Linked DNA regions of Homo sapiens: region 1 is linked to region 2. Evidence: promoter capture Hi-C in 16 types of primary human blood cells and fetal thymus (Javierre and others, 2016). All regions are on one chromosome and are shown on one strand. The core of a region is centred on a gene start or on the middle of the fragment in contact, and the rest is flanking DNA. Distances in the headings are between cores, read along the strand shown.

Region 1 (7,183 bases), core at 154-2,653, 390 kb after region 2:
TAACCACAGTGGCTTTTCTCCCCCTCCTGCTCATTCTGCTGATATAGCAGCATTGGTGTGCATGGCAAAGCTTTAGCTTTCTGCTCTAATTTGCTGTTCCTCTGATGAGAATTGTGCATTTGAGGATGCTTTGTTTCGTGTGTGTTAAGTGTTGCACATCCAGCTGGATTTTAAGTTTCTGAAGGCATGGACCCCCTCCCTTTTATCCGTCTCTTCTATAGGACCCAATATGGTATTCTATTGTAGGTGCTCAATTATTGTATGTTGAATGAATGTATGATTGAATCAGTGTGTGACTGAACAGATATTTCCAGTCTCCCATTTTATAAACTCAACAGTGCAAACTGGATGGGATTAATTTTAATCAGAAAGAAAGGTGTATGGCAATGCAGAAATAAAATGATGGTGAGAATAAGAAATAAAGATGAGATAAATATAAGAAATATATTTATATATTATAATCAGTTTAATGAGAAATAAAGATGAGAATAAGAAACAGACTAAGGGAGGAGCTAAAGAGTTCACTAATTCCACAGTAAAGGTGGTTTAGATGTGTAGATGACTGAATCTATGCAGTGGAGTATATATATATGTGTGTGTGTGTATACATATAATATGTATATAGATTTAAATACGTATGTATTTATGCGCCAGCATGGGCAACATGTCTCTACCAAAAATACAAATTAGCCAGTCATAGTGACACGTGCCTGTGGTCCCAGTTACTCGGAAGGCTGAGGTGGGAGGATTGCTTGAACCCAAGAGGTGGTGGTTGCAGTGAGCCAAGATTGCATCACTGCACTCCAGCCTGGGTGACAGAGTTGAGACCCTGTCTCAAAAATAAATGAATAAAATAAATAAATAAATATGTATTCATGTAATTATCTGTATACTTTATATATTATATACATATCTACAATGCATGATATATGATGTATGTATATGCATATATATTATATATGTGTATATATGTACGTGTTTGTGTGTATAGATGTGTATATGTGCATACACACACACACACACACACACACACACACATATATATACTTTAAAGAATTTATACCAAAGTTCCTCTTAGAGAACTGTCTTTGTCTGGAAAAATGCCTTGATTAGCCACTTGTGGGTGGAAAGACCCTGGGGCCACTGGATGAAAGAATATAAGATAGCAAAGTTATAGCTAAACCACTCCACATCTAAACATCAACAATAATTTGTGAGTGGGAGTAGAACAGTCAAGAGAAGAGAGGGAGCCGGGCGCGGTGGCTCATGCCTGTTATCCCAGCACTTTGGGAGGCCAAGGCAGGCGGATCACTTGAGGTCAGGAGTTCGAAACCAGCCTGGCCACCATGGCGAAATCCCGTCTCTACTAAAAATATTTAAAAAATTAGCTGGGCATGGTGGCACATGCCTGTAATCCCAGCTACTCAGGAGACTGAGGCAGGAGAATTGCTTGAACCCAGGAGGTGGAGGCTGCAGTGAGCCTAGCTCGCACCACTGCACTCCAGCCTGGGTCAAAGAGTGTAACTTCCAGAAACTGGTCTCAAAAAAAAAATTAAATTAAAAAAATTAATTAAAAAAAAAGAGAGGAGAGGGGAGAAAAATTAAAGATACAGATATGGGATTGTACAAGCCTTTGCCTTGGGAAAGTGGTTTGGGATAAATCAAAGAAAAGAGGTTGAGTTCCAGAACGAGATTGTCCCAGAGCAGAAAAGGATGACAACAGCAGAAGTAGACACCAAGAGAGGCGTGCATTCAGCAAGAGCAGGATTGTGGAACTGGAAGTGAACATGTGTCTGCAAAACCTCAGGAATTAACATAAACCCAGGGAAATAATTAGACCCCTCACAGAGCTTGGGAAGAAGCCTCAAGCAAATTTTAATTAAATCTTAAAAGGTACTCTTATCGGCCGGGCACAGTGGCTCACACCTGTAATCCCAGCACTTTGGGAGGCCGAGGCGTGTGGATCACCTGAGGGCAGGAGTTCGAGACCAGCCTGGTCAACATGGTGAAACCCCGTCTCTACTAAAAATACAAAAATTAGCCAGGCGTGGTGGCAGGCGCCTGTAATCCCAGCTACTCGGGAGGCTGAGACTGGAGAATCGCTTGAACCCAGGAGGCGGAGGTTGCAGTGAGCTGAGATCATGCCATCACACTGCAGGCTGGGGGACAGAGCGAGACTTTGTCTCAAAAAAAAAAAAAAGGTTGCTCTTATCTCAATTTATGTCTCAGAGTTCCTTAAATCCAGATTTAGGGCAAGTAATTTGGAAACCCTCTCTTCCTTCCAACCGATAAGTTTCTAATACTATCTTCTTAAAGCCCAGAGTTACAAAACAAACAAAAGCAATAAAATGAACAAATAAACAAAGCCCACATCCTCTTTCAGGGGTTGTTAGCGATGGATATTTGACCTGGGAAGACATCACAAGCAACCACAGTCCTGATTCCAGTGCCAAATCTGAGCAGGCCCAGCACTCCACACAGAACGTCCCTGATTCAAACTGGTGCCCAACAGGCCTTTCCTCAGTAGCATGGCCAGGTTAGGGCACCAAAGGGTTAAACTGTGACAATGTGGCAGGTTGGTAAAAATGTTCATAACCTGGTATTGAAATCTTTTCACCTTTTTCTCTGGGGCTATTTTAGTTAATACATGAAAATGCCAGGGTAATTGTTACACTTCTCTGATGCAGATGGTTATTGTTCCTGTTTTACAAGTAAGAGAACTTTAACATAAGCTTGCTCAGCATGCCCAGAGCAGGATTCTGAGTGAGGAATTATGATTTCCTAGGCTGGGCTTGGTTCACTGGACACCATTGTCCTCTACAAAGGGTTTATTGTGAAACGTTTACAAAAGCACTTTTAGGAGGAGTTCAATGTCTATTTCTATCTTGGTGAAAATGTGGGTGAATCTGTGTGAGTGGTGGTAGAGTCCCCTTGCAGAAGGGAGAAGGGAATGAACACTGGCTGTGTTCTTACCGTGAGCCCGGGACCAGAGCTCTTTCCTTACGCTCTCTGCACTTTCTGAAAGATAAAGCAGCAGTGACAAACTCTGGGTCGATGTAATATTCTATAACTTAATAGGACACGTGCAAGATACGCATTTGTCAAAAAGCATCAGGCAGGGTGCAGTGGCTCACCCCTGAAATCCTAGCTTTAGTAGGCGGAGGTGGGAGGATCACTTCAGCCCAGGAGTTTGAGACCAGCTTGGGCAACATAGGGAGAATCTGTTTCTACAAAAAATAAAAAAATTAGCTGGGCGTGGTGGCATGTGCCAGTAGTCCCAGCTACTTGGGATGCTGAGGTAGGAGGATCACTTGAGCCTAGGAGGTCAAGGCTGCAGTGAACCATGAGGCACCACTATGCCTGGGTGACAGGGTGAGACCCTGCCTGTAGAAAGAAAGAAAGGGCCGGACATGGTGGCTCACACCTATAATCCCAGCACTTTGGGAGGCTGAGGCAGGCAGATTATGAGGTCAAGTAATCGAGACCATCCTGGCCTATATGGTGAAACCCCATCTCTACTGAAAATACAAAAATTAGCCTAGCGTGGTGGCGCGCGCCTGTAGTCCCAGCTACTCAGGAGGCTGAGGCAGAAGAATTGCTTGAACCCGGGAGGAGGAGGTTGCAGTGAGCTGAGATCACACCACTGCACTCCAGCCTGATGACAGAGTGAGACTCTGTCTCAAAAAAAAAAAAAAAAAAAAAAAAAAAAAAGAAAGAGCATCAAACGGCACAGTTAAGATTTGTGCAGTTTGCTCTTTTTAAATTTTACCCTAAAGGAAAAAGAACTATCAGCTGAGGGCAGTGGCAGTGCCTGTAGTTCCAGCTACTGAGCCTGAGACAGGAGGATTGCTTGGGGAGTAGTTCAAGTCCAGCCTGGGCAACATAGTGAGACCACATCTCCTAAAAGAAAAAGAAAAAGAACCATAAACAGATATTGAATTCTAGTTAATTATATGGATGCTGAAGTGTTTCATTGTGAAATATTATGTTTAAAACTAACTTTGAAATGCATCCAAAAATTAAGATGGATTGATGGACGGTGAGAGGGATGGTTAGATGGATAGAAACGTGATCAAGCAGGTATAATAAAACATTGCTTGTGGAATCCAGGTGATAGACACCTGGGTGCTTATTGTGTAATGCATTCAACTTTTATGTTTGAAAAATTTCCTAATTAAATATTAGGAAAATAGGCTGGGTGTGGTGGCTCATGCCTGTAATCTCAGCACTTTGGGAAGCCGAAGCGGGTGGATTGCCTGAGGTCAGGAGTTGGAGACCAGCCTGACTAACATGGTGAAACCCCGTCTCTACTAAAAATACAAAAAAAACCAGCTGGGCGGCCGGGTGCAGTGGCTCATGCCTGTAATCCCAGCATTTTGGGAGGCCACAGCGGGTGGATCACCTGAGGTCGGGAGTTCAAGACCAGCCTGACCAACATGGAGAAACCCCATCTTTACTAAAAATACAAAATTAGCCAGGTTTGGTGGCACATACCTGTAATCCCAGCTTCTCGGGAGGCCGAGTCAGGGGAATTGCTTGAAACTGGGAGGCGGAAGTTGCAGTGAGCCAAGATGGCACCACTGCACTCCAACCTGGGCAACAGAGCGAGACTCTGTCTCAAAATAAATAATAAATAAATAAATATTAGGAAAATAAAAATGGTACTGATAGTTCCTACTTATCTGGCTGCCACAAAATGTGGGTAAAAGGTCCTCTTGAAAATAAACCAGCTACTCACGGTTGAAATTTCTATAAAGGTATCTTTTCCTTTCTCATGTGCAGTGCTCTCCTCTTTGAACTGCTGTTGAGTGCTTTGCATGCTTTACTCATGAGTAGTGGTCCCAGCTACATTGGGCACTGCTGGCCACTTCCCCCTTATGGAACTTTCTCTTCTCTTGACTCGTTAGACACCACACTCTCCTGGTTCTTCTCCTACCTCTCCGGTAGGTCCTGCCCCAGCTCTTTAACTACTTCCTTCTCCTTTGCCTTTTTTTTTTTTTTTTTTTTTTTTTGTCAGATAGGGTCTCACTTTGTTGCCCAGGCTGAAGTGCAGTGGCGTGATCACAGCTCACTGCAGCCTCGTCCTCCCCTGGCTCAGGTGATCCTCCCACATCAGCCTCTCGAGTAGCTGGGGCTACATGTGTGTGCCATGATGCTTGGCTAATTTTTGTATTTTTAGTAGAGATAAGGTTTCACCATGTTGCCCAGGCTAATCTTGAACTCCTGGGCTCAAGCGATCTTCCCACCTTGGCCTCCCAAAGTGCTGGGATTACAGGTATGACCATGGTGCCAGCAGCCTTTATCTATTTTTAAGAGTAGAAGTTTCTCTGGGCTTGGTTCTGGGTCTTCCTTTCTTTTCATTGTACTCTTTTTCCCGAGATGGTCTCATCAGTTTTCATGAATTTTAGTACCACCTCCCAAAGCAATCAGCTCCAGCATAAGGCTCTCTTTTCAACAACACTCTTACATTCAAGTGCCTCCCTGACATCTCCACTTGAATGTCTCCTAGGCGGCTTGCCCCTAATAAGTCTACGTCTAAGCTCCTGATGATGCCACCTCCCCAGTCACCAAAGCTGTTCCCCTCCTGTTCTGCATCTTCATGAGTGACAAACCCACGCGCTCTTTATCAAGCCACACCTTGGAGGCATGTCCTTCTCCCTCACTCCCCTCACCCCATCCAACACCAAGTCTAGATGTTTCCCTTTCCTGTCACCGCCTCAGCCACTGCCCTAGTGCCGTCACCACCATCTGTCCCTAGAGCATGGCAGGGGCCTCTGCACTGATTTCCCACGCGGACTCCCACTCCATTCTAACCCAATAGAAACTGCCAATGCCATCTTTTAAAAAAATAGGTCTGATTATGTCTCTTCCCTACTTATAACTCAGCAATGGCTTGCCACTGATCTTAGGATAACCACAGAGTACTTAAGATGGGGAGCAAGGCCTCTCTTGCCTGGTCTCTGGCCACACACTCCTTTGCATCGTCTGCTCTGCCCACATGAGCTTTCTTTCAATTCTTCCAACAAACTAAGCATTTTCCTACCTCAGGGCCTTGGTATAGAGGAGTTCCTGTTCTTGAAACCGTTCCTGAAATCTTTCCTTGTAAATCCCTACTCATCATTTGGTCTCAGCTTAAATAATATTTTTATTATTATTATTTTTAGATGAAATCTCACTCTGTCACCCAGGCTGTCGCAGTGGCGTCATCTCGGCTCACTGCAACCTCCGCCTCCCGGGTTCAAGAGATTCTCCTGCTTCAGCCTCCCAAGTAGCTGGGATTACAGGCGTGCACCACTACGCCTGGCTAATTTTTGTATTTTTAGTAGAGATGGGGTTTCACCATGTTGGCCAGGCTGGCTTCAAACTGCTGACCTCAGGCAATCCACCTGCCTCAGCCTCCCAAAGTGCTGAGATTATAGGTGTAAGCCACGAGACGAGCCTAAATGATACTTTTTGAGAAAAACTTCCTGACACACCCCTCCTCCATCCTAATTATGTCTCTTTCCTGCTAGTGTCTCTCATAAAGCCTCTTCTTTTGTTTCCCCGTAGAATTAGTAATTATGTGTCTTTGTGCTTTTTTATGTAATGTCTCTCTCCTGCTAGACTCCAAACTCCACGTAGGCAGGGAGCCTGTCTGCTGCTCTCAACTTTGGACTCAGCATCGAACATAGTCCCTGGTGCTTAGAAGATGCTCAACAAATACTTCACAATTGAATGAACACATGGCTATGCTGTCATAGAATTTGAAAGGTAATGGACAATGTGATAAATGAATATGGCATTAGGATTTAGCATGGGCTGGAAGCAGAGGCTCAAACCTATAATCCCAGCACTTTGGGAGGCTGAGGCGGGCAGATCACTTGAGCCCAGGAGTTCGAGACCAGCTTGGGCAATATGGTGAAACCCAGTCTCTACAAAAAATACACAAAAATTAGCTGGGCGTGGTGGTGCTACCTGGGAGGCTGAGGTGAGAGGCTTGCTTGAGCCTTGGAGGTCCAGGCTGCAGTGAAACATGATTGTGCAACTGCACTCTAGCCTGGGCAACAGAGTGAAAGCCAGTCTCAAAAAAAAAAAAAAAAAAAAAAAAAAGATTCAGCATGAATAAGACCTATATTGCCATGCTCCCAGAGCTGTTATGAAGAACCCATTCCACATTGGGAGTGAGAGCATTACGGGTGCTCAC
Region 2 (7,126 bases), core at 3,851-6,350:
GAGTAGCTGGGACCACAGGTGTGCACCACCACAGCCAGCTAATTGCTTTTTTTTTGCAGAGACACCAGTCTCCCTATGTTTCCCAGGCTGGTCTCAAACTCTTTGGCTCAAGCAATCCTCCCACCTCAGCTTCCCAAAGTGCTGGGAGGACAGGTGTGAGCCACTGTGCCTGAGGCTTTCCTTTTTTAAAAAAAAAAATTAATTTCTATTTTTTCTTGAGAGTTGATTGTGAAGTATAACTTCCTTTAAAAATGATCCCAGCCCAATGCAGTGGCTCACACCTGTAATCCTAGCACTTGAGAGGCCAAGGCAGGCAGATCGCTTGAGCCCAGGAGTTCAAGACCAGCCTGGGCAACATGGCAAAACCCCATCCCTACCAAAAATACAAAAATTAGCCAGGTGTGGTGGTATGTGTCTGCAGTCCCAGCTACTTGAGTGGCTGAGGTAGGAGGATGGCTTGAGCCCAGGAGGCGGAGGTTGTAGTGAGCTGTGATGGTGCCAGATCCCACTTTGGCTTCTATGACATTTTCTCATGATTTCTCTACATCTCCAAACACTTAGGAATTTCCTTTCCCAGCTCTTCTTCTATCTGGCTTTAAATGTTCTCCACAGCCTATTTCCAGAACTATTTTATGTTAACAAACTCTTCTTATTTGGTGTTATCTAAATCAAAGAATTCAGATACCACTCATAATATAGCCTGTTATACTGTACTCCAAATCCACATTCACAGTTCCATAGCAGATGATTCCACCTGGATGTTTCACAGATAACTTCCACTCAATATGTTCTGAAGCTAAAATACTGTTTCTCCTCAAATGTGCTTCTCTTCCTGAATTCCCCATCTCAGTATATTTTACCATTGTCTCTTCAATCACCCAAGTTAAAATCCAAGTCATCTTATTCTATTATTTTTCCCTCACTCCCCATATCCAATTGTTGCTGAATCCTATGAATTCTACTTTCTAAATATTTCTATTACCCTCCTCCTCCATAACCCCTCTAACATTGCCTTAGTTTGGACCCTTATTTCTCACTTCGATTAGTGCAAAAACCTCCTAAACAGTCTTTCTACATCCATTCTTACCTTCTCTCCATCCCTTCTGAAATCCTTACTCTACAATTCCAGAATGATCTTTCTAAAATAAAAATCTTGGCCGGACATGGTGGCTTACACGTGTAATCCCAGCACTTTAGGAGGCCGAGGAGGGTGGACTGCCTGAGCTCAAAGTTTAAGACCAGCCTGGGCAACACAGCAAAACTCCATCTCTACAAAAAAAAAAATACCAAAAAATTAGCCAGGTGTGGTGGCGTTCACCTGTGGTCCCAGCTACTCGTGAGGCTGAGGTGGGAGGATCGCTGGAGCCTGGGAGGTCGAGGCTGCAGTGAGCCATGACGGAGTGCGGTGAGTGCCACTTCATTTCAGCCTGGGTGACACAGTGAGACCTTATCTCAAAAAAGTAAAAAAAAAATAAAAAGAAAAATCTTATCATGTCTCTCTGTTCATTAAAATACATAAACCCTATTGTTATCTACAGGAAAAAATGGTAAGGTCCTTGGAATGGCACGCAATACTTTTGAGGATACCTGCAACCTCATCTTCTGCTACTTATCACCACAACTAATGCTACAGCTACAGAAAACAACTTCCCATTCTCTTCCATATTCTGTGCTGACTGCACCCCTGGCCCGCGCGTGCCTTTCCGCCTGCCGCGCCCCAGGACACCCCAGCTCTGGGCGCCACCAGGGAGCTGCTCGCCCTGACCAAGGCCGGCGGCAAACCCTTCTGCGCCTGAGGCAGGCTGGCCTCTAGCTCGGTAGGAAACCCGCGCTCAGGCGGACAGCGCCGACTCTTTTTACTGAGTTTCCAGAGGAAGACTAGCCCAGCTACCGCGAAGCTGCCAATCCACCGGAGAGGGGGCTTCTGAACCCGGACTCCTGGGAACGTCGACAAGCACGGCACTACTACACCGAGGCCTCCACCGCCTGGGCCTGAGCACGGCCGGGCCATTCCCAAACTCGGGACGCAGGAGAGGATCTCGGAGAAGAAGAGGCCACCCTGAAGCACACAGTTTACGTCAAAAGTTTACATGGAGAAGGCGGTTCCGTTCTGAAGCGCGGTCTGCTGTCCTTTTGGGCGCGAGGCATGTGGTGTTCGCTGTGAAGCCTCCTGGGCCTGTTGGTCCTCCGATTTCATCCTCGGGACATAATGCTTACCAACAGTACTTGCACTGAGTTGACACTCGTGCACTCTTGACTCCAGATGTTTTTCAAAATGTATGTTCACACCAATAATTGCCTACTTCAGAGGCTAATAAGACAAAACCAATAAAACTGAGTGATGGTGTCTGTATTGGGAAAAAAAAAAGTGTTCCATGTTCTTTCTCACCTACGTTTCTGCCCACCTTTCCCTCTAAAAGTTCCTTCCCCATCCCTGCCCTAGCCCCCCAATTTCTGCATTAGTCATGACTAAGCCTTCTTTAAGCTTAAGGACATAAAATATACAGTACCTAATACAGTGCCTGACCTATAGCAGAGGGTTAAAAATGGGCTGAGCTGGCTTAGGTCTCTTCTTTGTCCTCTCAATGACTCCTATTTGCTTATAAAATAAAATTGTAATTATTCTGATGGTCTGCAAGATCCATAATTTGGTCTCTGCCTATCTCCCCAGTTTCAGGTCTTGCCACCACCCTGTATTATACTTGCTATTTTTGCAGATGCTACTCTCTAATTTTAGACTCCCATGCTTTTTCTCACACTGCTCCTTCTACCTAAATGCCCATTCTTTCTATGCCTGTACACTCCTGATTTTCATCACCTTCTACATAGTTTTTCCTTACAGTTTCCCTCTTCTTCAGCTCTTTTCTTCACTTTAAGAAACTGACCACTATCTCCTTTGTACATCCACTGTACCCGCATATGTTCTTCAATCAAAACAATCTTGTACTTGTTGACAGTTAAAGTAAGAGATAAGGTTCAACTACCCTGAAGGCAGGAACACTGCCTTCTGTATCTTTAAGTCCTCTTCACCTGGTCACAGTACTTTCTACATAGTAATTCCTGTATTCTAAATAATCTGCATTTTTCCTTGTACCCTCTTATACAAACTAACATAAGTTTCTATCAGGGATCTTTCAAAACAGAAACAATATTCTTTTGGGTTACATGCTGGGCCCGATCTCTTCTTGCCAAGCAAACAACTATGCAAATATAACTGTACAAATTAAAGTTATTATGCACTTTCTGATACCACTTTCCTATTCTAAATTAGGGGAGAAATAGTCTGGATAAGATCCATAATTAGAAACAATATCCTGAAGAGAAAGCAAACTAAGTTGTATTACATTGTTTCGAGATACCTTGTTTAAAGAGTCACTTCTCAAAAGCTACTACTGTTGGCAGGGCGCGGTGGCACACGCCTGTAATCCCAGCGCTTTGGGAGGCCTAGGCGGGCAGATCACCTGAGGTCGGGAGTTCAAGACCAGCCTGACCAACATGGAGAAAATGTCTCTACTAAAAATATAAAATTAGCCGGGCGTGATGGCGCATGCCTGTAATCCCCTCAGGAGGCTGAGGCAGCAGAATCGTTTGAACCCAGGAGGCAGAGGCTGTGGTGAGCTGAGATCATGCCATTGCACTCCAACCTGGGCAACAAGAGCGAAACTCTGTCTCAAAAAATAAAAAACTAAAAAAAAAAAAAAAAAGCTACTGTTAACTAACCTACCCCACTTGGATCTACCAGATACTTTGAATGAGAGGTGGAAACCACTCTACTGACCTCCTTCCTACCCCTACTACCGCCACTCCAGCTTACAGTAATTATTTTCACAAAGACAGAAAGGAGTTATCAAATGACCACAATAACTCTAAAAACAGAAAGTGAGGTGATCTTTCTTATTCACAGTCCCACTTATTCATTTAGAAATGCTGAGCACCAAAACAAAACCTTATCACAAGTTCAGTATTTCGTTAATAACTGCCAAGTATAATGGAATACTCCCCAAAGTACTGCAGCATTAGAACATGACCACTCCACTAAATTAAAAATTCAGCGAAAGCTTTTCTAACAAGGCTGGATGGAGCACTAACTCAACGGCCAAACGGCTGCACTTCCTGTATATGCACGTTCAAAACACCTCGAATTAACATGCTAGGGACCTTGAAGAATTGTACTAGGCCTTGCTCAAGAGGAAGGCTTTGTAATACTGAATCCCAAAACTTGAAACAGCAGAATTACTTCAGGGAAGACGGAGGTGTTAAATATTCTGTAAAACCTGTTTCACTCTCACAACGATCAGTTTTAAAAAAAAGAGGGAGAACACTGACCTCATTAAGAGCATTCTGACAACACACATAGTTGAACATGAGTTGTGAAAAGAATTTTCAACTTCAGATCTGTCTGTCCATTCCCACTGAAACCTGAAGGAAGGATCGCAGCACCCAAAGGCGCCCACTGCTCAGTGCCAGCGGTGGGCGACACCAGGAGCCTGTCCTGGTCCCCTGGGTAAGCCCTGGAGCCTGGCCACTATGCCGGGCACGATCCACCAACCGTGAGGGCTGGGTCCCCTAGCCTCTGTCCAGGCGCCCCCCAAGAGCTTCCCCGAGGCCTGGGGACTCCTAACTCTCCACCCCCGGCCCCCGAGAGCACCACAAACGAGGACGCCACGAAGGGAGGCCCGTCGGCCAGTGGGAGGGACGCACGGCCAAGGGGGGCGAAAACTGGGGCGAAGCTTTCCGGGGAGGAACCCACGCCAGGGGCAGCCACGCCCCCCACCCCCAACTTCAAACCCGAGCGCTGCGAGCACCGAGCCCCACACGCTGCCTGACAGACGCGGGCGCGAGGCCGGCGCGGGAGAGGGTTCCTCGGGCACTCCAGGGGTATCGCCGCGACCCTAGCACGCGACCGCTCCCTGCGACTGACCTGTGCCTGCCGCCGCGCGACCGTCCGCCCCGCCGCAGCCTCCGCCTCCTCGCGCTCACGCTGCCGCCGCAGCCACCGGAGCCGCCTCCTGCGCTGCGCCCCAGGCCGGCCTCGGGCGCCCCATTCCCACCCCGCCCAGCCTCTGCCTGTTTACAATGATTGGGACGGAACGGGACGAGGCGGTCCAGCGCGCACGCGCATTCCCTCCTCCCGCCGCAGCCGGCTTCCCGGATCCTCCTCTCCGCTCAGACGGCTGAAGCCGTCAAGGGCAGGCGACCTGGGCTCTCGCGCGGGGCGCGCTGGGAGGCGTAGTTCCCAAGGCCCCGGCGTCCAGCCAGCCCGAAGGCCTCTCGCCAAGGAAGCAAACTACAACACCCAGGAGGCACCGCGCCCCCTTCGTCCCCAGGCTCGCTGAGGAGACTGAAGAAGAGCGCGAGAGAACGCGCCGAGGGCCAGTGCTCTGCAGGCGCCTGCGCAGTCGGTGGCCTTGCGGGTTTCGGGGACGGACGGCTTACCCCGGTGTGGTGCTGGCGAAGGTGGCTCGCGGGCATCTCCTGCAACGGCCTTGAGGATGGAAAGGGCTTTCCTCTCCACGCTCTGGCCAGCCTGCGCCTCAGCTCCCGAAGTTGAGAGCTTTCCTTGCGCCAGCGTGCTTTAGTCGTTCCAACCAGTTAAACCAGACTGGGGGCCGCCCGGCTGGCCGCTGGGTGGGGCGGCTGCCCCGCCTTCGACTGGGTGTGGGATTGGAGGAAAGAGCGCCGTGGGCCTGTAGGGATAGGCGGGAATAAACCTCTGTCGGGAACATCCACGGAATTCCTGAAGCGGGTGTGGGCTTCTGCAGGGCTTCAGCGCGCCCCCGGCTCAGCAGTTACCGAGCAGCCCCCGAGGAAAGCTGCCCAGTCCGTGTTTGGCTGGCAGTAGAGATAACTGAATTTCTTCGAGAAGCCTTTCACCCAGGCTTGTTGAGTTGCTCTGCTAATGCGTAGCGAAGGCTGGAAACGGCTTCAGCAGTCTTCGTGTTTTCTGAAATGTGGCAGTTTATTAGGGGAGAGGAGGGACTTGGAATAGACGACCCTACCTGTCACTCGCATTCCTACGTGCAGCACTCTGTGGCACTTCGTTGCCCGTTTAGATTGGCCGCTGCTATCCATCTTGCTCTCTGCTCCCACATCAGCTTTCCTCAAAGCGGGCGGTAAATTTGTCCCTAGTACTCTGCGCTCCCTACTCAGTAAAGTTCAACCCCTGGGGCCTTAGATTCATTCAGGGGCCTCCCACGAGTGGATACGGGATGGTCTGAGGTAGCCATTGGTCTTTGACTTTCGGAAAAGCCTTCTCATGGCTCCTCTCGCAGTAGAACAGTCTTCTCTGACCACTGGGTTGGGCAGGTGAGCATGGCAGTGACAATTCTCTGCCTGTGACAGCACTGATTCGGCCAAGGGGCAGGCACTGATCCACGCTGGGCCTTATGGAGGCCTTGCCTGAAGCTGCTATGTGGATGCAGGAGGGGAGCAGAGGGAGTTTTCTACTGAGGCAATTGCTGATGGACGTGTTTCTTGCAACATCGAGTGGCCTAGCCAAAGGTGAGGGTGTGAAAGAGAAGAAAGGAGAAATGGAAAGGGAGAAAGAGCTGGCAGAATGTAGACCGTGGTTTCATTTGGAGGGCATGGTTTGTGGAGCTCTTTAAGTGCTGTGAGCATGTGAGCCTAAGTGGGTGAGCCCACTCATTCATTGATTTATTATTTGGAGCCAATATGTGTGGATATTGAATGTATTTGTTGGCTGCCACTTGAGCATTTATTCCTTCCATTTAAGCCAGGCAACATAACCATTCCCTCTAGCAGCAGAGATGGTCACAAGCCCAGTCAGAAACAATGAACCCACAAAGACTGGGGCTGAGGCTTCCAGTAAACTGTAGCTTCCTTGCTCCTCTAGCATGGTGTAAGTATATGATGCCTGGAAATGTGGCAACCGTTTTCCTCCTATAAGGGGAAACCCTAGAGGGATGGGAGTTTAGAGGGACAGCAACAAGTAGAGCCTGGGGTTGAAGTCAGTACTGTCAAATGAATGCGGGAAAGATGGAGAAGAACCTTGTGTTTGGTGGCATGATTTGAGCTGCAGTATCAAACCTCACCTGTTTGATTCTATGGACTATCCTATAGACTATTCGGGATTGTGAGCAAGGCCATCTTACAGACTATCCAGAAT

Evidence for each region. Contacts are between HindIII fragments. The CHiCAGO score rates a contact against its expected background, and 5 or more counts as called.
Region 1: a contact is called between a fragment that was not itself captured here and the fragment with the promoter of RALBP1 in region 2, in 1 of 17 cell types (neutrophils). The highest score is 6.3, in neutrophils.

Annotation. Positions count from the first base shown.
Region 1 is chr18:9,075,665-9,082,847 of GRCh38, reverse strand. No RefSeq gene overlaps it. Among named protein-coding and RNA genes, the nearest start is that of NDUFV2, 23 kb to the left of the region's middle. The HindIII fragment of the contact is 2,662 bases long and covers 73-2,734 here.
Region 2 is chr18:9,473,487-9,480,612 of GRCh38, reverse strand. It overlaps RALBP1 (ralA binding protein 1), which reads right to left and starts at 5,100. Exons shown (of 10, transcript NM_006788.4): 1 at 4,922-5,100. It also overlaps the pseudogene IRX4P1. RefSeq lists enhancers at 4,470-4,529, 4,268-5,136 and a silencer at 4,760-5,169. The HindIII fragment of the contact is 10,934 bases long and covers 4,733-7,126 here.